Regions from separate parts of the Homo sapiens genome. Here region 2 is linked to region 1. The links are contacts of gene promoters, found by promoter capture Hi-C in human tissues and cell types (Jung and others, 2019). All regions are on one chromosome and are shown on one strand. Each heading gives the region's core, a stretch centred on a gene start or on the middle of the fragment in contact. The rest is flanking DNA. Distances are from core to core; before and after follow the strand shown. Region 1 holds the start of NCKAP1L (NCK associated protein 1 like). Region 2 holds the start of LACRT (lacritin).

Region 1 (4,907 bases), core at 746-3,245:
CTTCTACCTTTGCCTCCCAAAGTGCTGGGATTATAAGCATGAGCCACTTCACCTGGCCCCAACTTCTTAAGTAATAATGCTGATCAGCCTTGTCTCTCTTCTCCCACTCCCTAGAATTTATTGGGACAATGGGAACTCTGGATACGGAAAATGGGAATGATTAAAAACCTGAGAAAAGGAATTGGCAAGGTGGTGGAAATGAAGAGAACTCTTTTTGATTTATAATTTTTCCTAGGACCTTTTGCTTTGTGTCTTGAAAGAAAGTTGAAATAGAGTTGAAAATTTTCTTGAGTTACGGAGTTAAGGCCTCATTGGAATGGCAAGAATATTTTAATGCTAAAATTCATTCAAGTCTCTAAGATTTAAGGGTGATTACTAATTTCCTCTTTTTAATCTTGATTAATTTGGTTCTTCTTCATGGGGCCTATTTCCTAATTTAGTCTTAATAATTCAACAAATAAACCAGCATATTTATTGAGTGACTACTGTGTCCAAGAGGTATTGTTCTAGATCAGTGTTTTTCAGAATGGAATATTTGTACCAAAACCTCCTACAACAGTGCTTATATAAGTACAGACTTCTAGGCCCCACAACAGACTCGCCTACCTACCAATGCTAATCTCAGAGGACAGGGATTGATCTGTTTCTCAAGCATCCATAAATACCATGGTACTAGAGCACTGGTTCTCAAACTTGAGTGTGCATTGGAATCACCTGGAGGGTTTGTTAAAACACAGAGTGCCTGGACCCACCCCAGAATTTTGGATTCAGTGGTCTGGGGCGGGTCCTAAGAATTTGCATCTCTAACAAGTTTCCAGGTGATGCTGATGCTGCTGGATCACATTTTGAGAATTACTATGTACTTCTTGAGAACTACTTTGAGAATTATTATGTACTGTAGAAGTACAATGCACTGTAGTAGAGCATTGTGAGAAATATAAAAAAGTATTAGAGGCCGGGTGTGGTGGCTCATGCCTGTAATTCCAGTACTTTGGGAGGCTGTGGCGGGTAAATCACCTGAGGTCAGGAGTTCGAGAGCAGCCTGGCCAACACGGTGAAACCCCATGTCTACTAAAAATACAAAAATTAGCAAGGCGTGGTGGTGGGCACCTGTAACCACAGCTACTCCAGAGGCTGAGGCTGGAGAATTGCTTGAGCCCAGGAGGTGGAGGTTGTAGTGAGCAGAGATCATGCCATTGCACTCCAGCCTGGGCAACAAGAGTGGAACTCTGTTTCAAAAAAAAAAAAAAAAAGAAAAAAAAGTATTAGGTACAATTCCTGTCATTAAGGAGCTTATGCTGTAGTTGGGGGAGATACAACGTACACTATAAACATATAACAAGGAATATATGTATTTGACAATATAAAATATAATACAATATAATATTTGACATTGATGGGGTCTTTAGGAGAAGATGGGATTTGATCTGGGTACTAAAACATGATGAGGCCAAAGGTTCATAGGCATTCTTGGATATAAAAGAAGGAAAATATAGAGGTGTACAGGGGTGGGGTGGTAGATACTTGTTTATCTAGCTTACAGCTTTTAATTTTTATTTTTTATAGAGATGGGGTCTTGCTATGTTGCCCAGGCTGGTCTGGAACTCCTGAGCTCAATGGATCTTCCCACCTTTTCCTCCCAAAGTGCTGGGATTACAGGTGTGAGCCACCACGCCCAGCTTTGTCTAGGACACTTATGGGGGCATAAGACCAAAAAGGTTGGTGCAGTCTGTGAAGAGCCTTGAAAGCCTGTCCTTCTCCTCAGCTCCACCCACTTCATAGCCTTACCAAAAGTGCTGCACAGCCAGAAAGAGGAAGTCTCCCCTGCTGAGTGTGCAAGAGGAAGCACAAGAAGGCTCTGAGGGCCTGTGAGCCATAATGACTGATTTCACCCATGAGCCAATTGCAGAGGCAACAGAAGACCAGTGCACCAACCAGGCTGGGTCCCTCCGCCAGAGGGTGTCACCATCTAAGCTGAAAGTGTTTGGGGAGATCAGACATTGCTGTCTGGTGCTCCTCTCTCAGTGGCCATCATGTCTTTGACATCTGCTTACCAGCATAAATTAGCAGAGAAGCTCACTATCCTGAATGATCGCGGTCAGGGGGTTCTCATCCGTATGTATAACATCAAGAAGGTAAGCATGAACAATGGGACTAGTACTGATTATTCCAACAATAATAGGGCAGGGAACCCTGAGGCGGCAGGTGCAGCAGTTAGACTCCCACCTTTTTTTCCACTGCTTTTCCACTGACTATAATCTACATAATCACTCAGATTATACAGGCCAGCCAGTTCAGGAAGGCAGAAGTGGAGGCTTCTTTTCAAGGCTTCCCCTTTCTAGATATGATTCTTGCCCCAACGATGGCATCTGCTTTCCTCTGGGGATGGGGGTGAGGGTGGGGATGGGGAAACAACAGTGGTATTCCAAGTGACTTGGATAAAGGTCTGGGGTCCAACCTTCTGGGTTTTATTATTTATTGTTGATCCTCTACACTCTGAAGAGATCTGAAGCTGGGTCTCTGGCAAAAACTTTTCTGTGGAAGTGCTTCCCTAAAAGGAAAAAAAATAGATAATTAGGTATTTAGATTAAAAAGGGTAGGTGTCTTCTGAGCTGCTCCTGGGGTAGTTCATGCTGTGGTGGTTGTGTGTGTGTGTGTGTGTGTGTGTGTGTGTGTGTTTAGAATAGGAACTGAGGAATTGAAAGAAGCTAGTGACAAGAGGTGGGCTAGGGGCTGGGCAAACCATAGGAAGTAAAGAGATAAAGACAGGGGTGTTTATGGGGAGTTCCTGGCATAGAAAATAGGGGACTTTGGGGGAGGGAGCTTTTGTGTTTTTTGTAATAAAACAAATCACCAGGAACACGGTTTCTCTGTCACCATGAATCCTGTAAATGCCCTTTGGGATAAGATACTTACATAGTGAACAAAATTGTGACACTGAATCTTGTACAAAGTCTAACTCCTGAGCAGCTGCTTTTCTTGTTCCTTCCGGCTTCAGTTGAGGGGCGGGGAAACAGCTTCCTCTTTGTGCTGGGGCCAAGCAGGCATTAAACTCTACCCATCAAGACAAAATGCCTAGGTTGTTATTTCGCTCTTAGATACTTGGCTTAATGTCTTGGAATTTTTTCTTGACCTACTCTTATGCTTTTTATTTTTATATTTATTTATTTATTTATTTATTTATTTATTTTCGGAGTCTCGCTCTGTCGCCCAGGCTGGAGTGCAGTGGCACGATCTTGGCTCACTGCAACCTCCGCCTCCCGGGTTCAAGCGATTCTCCTGCCTCAGCCTCCCAAGTACCTGGGACTACAGTTGTGCACCACCATGCCCAGCTAATTTTTGTATTTTTAGTAGAGACGGGGTTTCACCATGTTGGCCAGGCTGGTCTCGAACTTCTGACCTTGTGATCTGCCTGCCTCGGCCTCCCGAAGTGCTGGGATTACAGGTGTGAGCCGCTGCGCCCAGCCTCTCATGCTTTTTAAATTAGTTCCCAGGTTGCCTTTTCCTAAGACAGATTATGAGAATGAATGTTGCAAGAAGAGGTATGTTTCTGAGGAGGAGGAGAAAGGGTTGAAATATATATGGTTTCTCTCTGCAGACTTGTTCAGACCCCAAATCTAAGCCACCTTTCTTACTGGAAAAGTCCATGGAACCATCTCTCAAGTATATCAACAAGAAATTTCCCAACATAGATGTCCGAAACAGCACGGTGAGAACTTGGTCCTTCTCTCCTTTCTCTGAATAATTCTCTGCTTGAATGGCTGAAATTCTCCTCTTTTGATGCCTCTCTTCAAACTTGGCAGGGGATGGAGTAGTCTTTTTTTATTAATAGTTTTCCAAGGCTCAACCACAGGGCTTCAGGTTGTTGTAGAGCTTTAAGTCTTGAGCATTTTGAGATAAGATGGGATTCTTCCAGCATAAGCTGGAGCGAATCATCACCCCTTTTCCATTGCAAGATTCATGGGAAAACATTGTTTTTGTACAAGACAGCTCTATCAACCCAGCAGGGTACATGTATTTTATTGTTTCTGTTTCCCACTCACTGTTTCCTTGCTGTTTGTCTTAGATTTCTGCATCTAATGGGATATCTCTACTTTTCCCTTATTAAATGTTAACCCTAGATTTTTCACCCATCTTTGTAGCATCTTTGAATTCTGTTTCTTTTGACTTTGATATAAATAGTATATCTGTTCATCTGAAAGGGTGCTTAAAATTTCCTCTCATTTAGCCCTCTGTATCTAGTCAGGATCACATGCAACCATTCTACCTAGATAGACAATCTCCTTTGTTTAAAGACCTTCAGAGCACTGAAGCGTTTCTAACTTCCTCTGTCAGTATATTTCAACTCTCTTTCTTTTTCTTTTCTTTTCTTTTTTTTTTTTTTTGAGATGGAGTCTTGCTCTGTCACCCAGGCTGGAGTGCAGTAGCACAATCTTGGCTCACTGCAACCTCTGCTTCCCAGGTTCAAGTGATTCTTCTGACTCAGCCTCTCGAGTAGCTGGCATTACAGGCGCCCGCCACCACGCCCAGCTAATTTTTGTATTTTTAATAGAGACGGGGTTTCACCAGGTTGGCCAGGCTGGTCTTGAACCCCTGACCTCAGGTGATCCGCCTGCCTCGGCCTCCCAAAGTGCTGGGATTACAGGTGTGAGCCACTGCGCCCGGCCTCAACCCTCTTTAAGAATGTTTTAGGTATAACCACTGTTCTTCTTGAGTTATTTGGATCAATTGTCTTATTTTGCACTTTTTTATTGTTTTGTTTTGTGTTTCTCTCAGCAACATTTAGGACCAGTACATCGTGAAAAAGCCGAGATAATTAGATTCCTCACCAACTACTACCAGTCATTTGTGGATGTCATGGAATTTCGGGTGAGCTCTCTTGAGCCGTTTCCAATGTAGGCAAGGTC
Region 2 (4,490 bases), core at 950-3,449, 140 kb after region 1:
AGTGAGTAAGAGGTCAGGCGAAGGCATGTGTGGGGAATGGAAACAAGTTCAATTTAGCTGATGTGGGTGCGACATAAAAGAGAGTCATGGAAAATGGGGTTGGAAAATGAGGTTAGAGGCCAGATAATGGTTATCTTGCTAAGGAATTGGGAGTAATGGGAGGTGTTTGCAGGTGAAGGTATTAATGCCATGTGAGACATTGCCCTTACCACTTAACCTCATGTTTCTCTCCCTTTTATTCACAATAACCTTTTCCCCATGCTCCCTATTGTCCTTGCCTCTCTGGGTCATCCTCTTTTGTCCTTAGCCTTGTACCATTTCAACCCATGCCACCTTCTTTATTATATTACCTGCCCCTCCCCATTACCACCAAGCACAGAATCCAGATCTCCTCCCACTGGCTTCTTCTCCCAGCCACCACTCACATCCCTAACTGTTAAACCTTCCCAACGAGGGCTAGGGCAGCAGGGAGAGGAGGACTCACAGGTCCCAGCTTCCTGGGCAGGATCAGCACCCGTCGAGTCAGAGGAGGCATCTTCTGCAATGGGGGAAACATGCCAGATGAGAGCAAGGACCGAACCGGACCTACTCGAGCCACCCTCCCCTCCCATTCCCAAAGCTTATCTCCTGGGAATGCTCATGGATAGAAGGGGATCAATTTCCCTTTGGGTTGGACATGCCCTTCCACCATATCAGCGGGTCTACTGGGGCACTCTCTGATGTTTAACTCCTGTGGCTTTTGAAATAACTTCCCCTCTGAGAAGTGTAATGTCTCTTGGAACAGTGCCTTCCTCCTGACTGGCCCCTGGCTTGGTAGGCTTCCCTGAGGTGTCTGTCATGGAGCTGGCCATGGTCAGAGGGGCTCAACCTCCTCTGTGGTGGAGGAGGACAGTATGTGGGGGTTATGGGGCCATATTTGAGCGATTTGCAGGATTGAGACCCCAGCCTTGATTCCCTTTATTCTTTCAACACAACATTTATGCAAAGCTCTGTGCCAAGAGATGGAGGTGCAGTGCTGAAGAGGGCAGACAAGACCCCTGCCCTGACAGAGCTTACATCTGTCCTTTTACGAAATTATTTAATGGCTGGTGTGACAGTGCTGGAAGGGAACGTGCAGCCTGGTGCGAGAAGGGCACATGGATCTGATTTGTTCCGCATGTGCATGGAAGGCCTTTTTGGGGAATTATATGTAAACTGAGATTTTCTAGATGAAAAATCATTGGCCAGGTGACATTAGAGTTGGTTGGGGGAAGGGGCCAGGGAGAGGGAAAGCATTCTAGACGAGGAAAGGACAAGAAGGAAGATCCTGATGTTCAAGGAACAGCAGGATCATCATGGCCCAAATAGTGCTTCTGTGGATCAAAAAAGGCATCCCAGCAGGGCACGGTGGCTCACGCCTGTAATTCCAACACTTTGGGAGGCCAAGGCAGTCGGATCACCTGAGGTCAGGAGTTCGAGACCAACCTGGCCAACATGGTGAAACACCGTCTCTACTAAAAATACAAAATTAGCTGGGCAAGGTGGCATGAGCCTGTAGTCCCAGCTACCCAGGAGGCTGAGGCAAGATAATCGCTGGAACCCAGGAGGTGGATGTTGCAGTGAGCAGAGATCGTGCCACTGCACTCCAGCCTGGGCAACAGAGGGAGACTCGGTCTCAAAAAAAAAAAAAAAAAAAAGGCATCCCTTCCTCCTAAGAGACACAGCCAGGGGCCAGGCTCACTGCTTGGCAAGTAGAGTGTCGGCCAGATTTTAGCTTCTACCACTCCTTGCCTGGGCACCCTCGTGTAGGGGACACCCTGCTCAACTACATGCAGGGGACACCAGAGAAGCCAGTGTAGCTGAGGCATAGTGGGTAAACAATGGTGTGTGAGGAGATGAGCTGGGAGGGCAGGCAGAGGCCAGAGAGTTCTGGGTTCCTCTGGCCAGTGGGGTGCAGAGGCCACGTGTGGAGAACTGGGAGAGGAGTCACTTGCAGAGGCAGGGAAACCAGAATAGCACTGAGAGAGGAGGAGAGGGGTGAAGGCAGGAGTGAGGGGCTCCTTGGACTGGGAGGACTCTTGTGGGGCGCAGAGGAAAGGCCATACTCACCAGCATAGACCAGGGCCCCTGCTACAGCTGCCAAGAAGAGGAGAGTGGTAAATTTCATTCTTTGGGATGAGGAGTGAGTATAACCACAGAATCTGCAGAAGGTCTGGGGAATAAGGATGCTGAAATTGCTGGGCCCTTTTAAGGATATCAAGGGCCAATGGGAACCAAGCCTGGAGAGGTGTGACTTCCGCATCCTCCTCCCCTTCTTCCCCAAACTGTCACCTGCTAAGTCAACAAGGGCTAGGTTGGGCTGGCTGATACCTGGGATCCTTGCAGGCAGGTCCTGGATAGGAGCCTTTCTCTAACTCCCAGCCATCCCTTTTCTTTCTCCCTCCTCCCTTCCCCACCACACCTGCCCTCTGGGTTCACACCCCTGGGCTCTCAGGGACGGTAGGTAGAGCACATTTCACTTGGGGAGATTCTGGGATGTGTCTGTTGAGGGTTCTGGTAGAGAAATCTTAATCTTGTCATCTCTCCAGGAGGAGGTTGAGGGCTCAGGGGATTACATTGTCCACCTTCTGTCCCAGTCTACATAGGACTCAGTGCAGGGTTTGAAGGTTTCCCCAAACTAAGTGAGCCCGTTTCCTTGGGAGACCACACCTAGAACACTTGAGGCCTGAGTTCCTGGCTGCTTTCTCCCCATGAGGGGATGGGTTTGAAGGCGTGTGTGCCTTCTCTGGAGTTGTTCTCTGTTCTTGACATTATCCAGCCCCTAAAAAGAACTCCTCCAGGCTCACATAGGCCTGTCAATCTCTGTCTTCAGGCCTACTCAATGGGACCCCACATTTCTGAGAGAATCTCCTGGTCAAAGCATGATGGTGGTTCACTGAAATTGGAGCTTGGTTCTGACTTCAAGTGGGGAGCTGACCCATGGTGTGAATAATCCAGAAAAGCAGATTATTCTAAAGAAGCTTCTCTTTGACTTGGCGTTTCTTCCTTTCCTGATCTGGGACTCTAGAGGTCTGGATTTTGAGTTCTGGCTTTGTCATATGAAAATGTTAGGATTTGAAAAGTGATAGGATTTTTATTTGTTGTCTAGGAGTTGTGGCTCCTATGTACAGCATAGTGGTGGAGATTAAGTGGGATAATATACGGCAAAGCATTTTTTTAGACAGCGAAGTTCTATGGAGTTGTGTGGGGTTCTTGTACCATCTTTCCAAGTAGGTTTTTGTCCAGGCTGGTGCTAAATGCTAGATATTAATAGAACGGGCCGTGGAGCAGGAGTCAGTTGAGGGGCTGAAGGGTGGAGAATAAGGTGCTGGATGTCAATTTGTGACTTTCCCCTTGCTTGGTGTTGGCATTCACCCAGCCCCATGTGGGCTGATTCCGGAGGCTTCTCTGCCTCATGGTAGCTCTGAAGATGAGTGTGAGAAGGGGGTATTGAAGAGTTTTCAACATGAGGGTGTTTTGGGTGCCAGGGTTTAGAACATTAATCTTTTCAGGAGATAAAGGAAGATAAAATTAATGGGGTGGGACATTAAAGCCTTGGCAATTGCTACCTGCCTGAGGGTCTGGGCCTGGGAGCCTTGAAGGTGGTGGTGGCCTTACCTGGAATGGGGAAGGCTGAAGAACAAGAGAAAGTTTTGATGGCACCAGTGCCCTGGGTATGTGCACATACGTGTGTGCACGTGTGTGTACACTGCAGAAGGAGAAGTCCTGCAGATCCCAAACAGATCTAGATCCCGAGCAGTCTCCATGAGCACATTAAAAAAGTCAACAGGAGCAAATTATGCTATTTGCACAAGACTTTTCTAAGAGGAAATGAGAACTTTGGCGTCAACACTAGAACTGTCACAGAGCAGGGTCTTTCCAAATGTCACCGCATAGCCCTTTCCTCTCCCAAATCTTCCTCCTGGCCTCAGTAATTAAAGAGGCAAGCATTTACATAAATAGGGATGAGGTGAAAGTAAGGACATTTGTTTTATAGAAAATTTTCATTATTCTATAACAGGGCCCAGAGAAATGTTACCCCAAATTATAGAGCCTGGGAAAGAATTGGGTGCATAGATTAAAGAGGCAGACCTCATGGATATGGGTGAGAGGCTGCTCTGTGCAATGTCTTGACGGACCTCATGGATATGGGTGAGGGGCTGCTCTGTGTGATGTCTTGTTTTCTAGGTTATCTGACCTCCATGATGACTGTCAGTTCGCTGATCTGTGTCTTGTCTCATGGGCTGCTCGTTGTACCTCTCTCCCCTCTGCCTCAGGTTTATTCTCTCTCATCTCTGCACTGGTCTGGAAGGATGCCTCTATGGGCTGTATCACCTGGGCTCCCATGCCCTCTAGCTTCGAGTTGAGTTTGGCCAATGGGAGACACAGGTGGGAGATGGGAGGGTGGGAAAAGGGAGAGATTAAGGCATTTGTTCCTCCTGCTCCCTCTCTTGCTTTGGCATGTGTGGTAG

What was found. Contacts are between HindIII fragments. The study calls those that stand out against the background at their distance.
Region 2: the fragment with the promoter of LACRT here is called in contact with the fragment with the promoter of NCKAP1L in region 1 in 2 of the 25 tissues and cell types used here (mesendoderm cells and psoas muscle).

What each region holds. Positions count from the first base shown.
Region 1 is chr12:54,495,757-54,500,663 of GRCh38, forward strand. It overlaps NCKAP1L (NCK associated protein 1 like), which reads left to right and starts at 1,996. Exons shown (of 31, transcript NM_005337.5): 1 at 1,996-2,135; 2 at 3,599-3,709; 3 at 4,777-4,869. The coding sequence starts at 2,034. RefSeq lists enhancers at 1,958-2,017, 2,128-2,187. The HindIII fragment of the contact is 19,249 bases long and covers 1-4,907 here.
Region 2 is chr12:54,632,696-54,637,185 of GRCh38, forward strand. LACRT (lacritin) reads right to left here and starts at 2,200. Exons shown (of 5, transcript NM_033277.2): 1 at 2,089-2,200; 2 at 485-538. The coding sequence starts at 2,146. The HindIII fragment of the contact is 5,914 bases long and covers 1-4,274 here.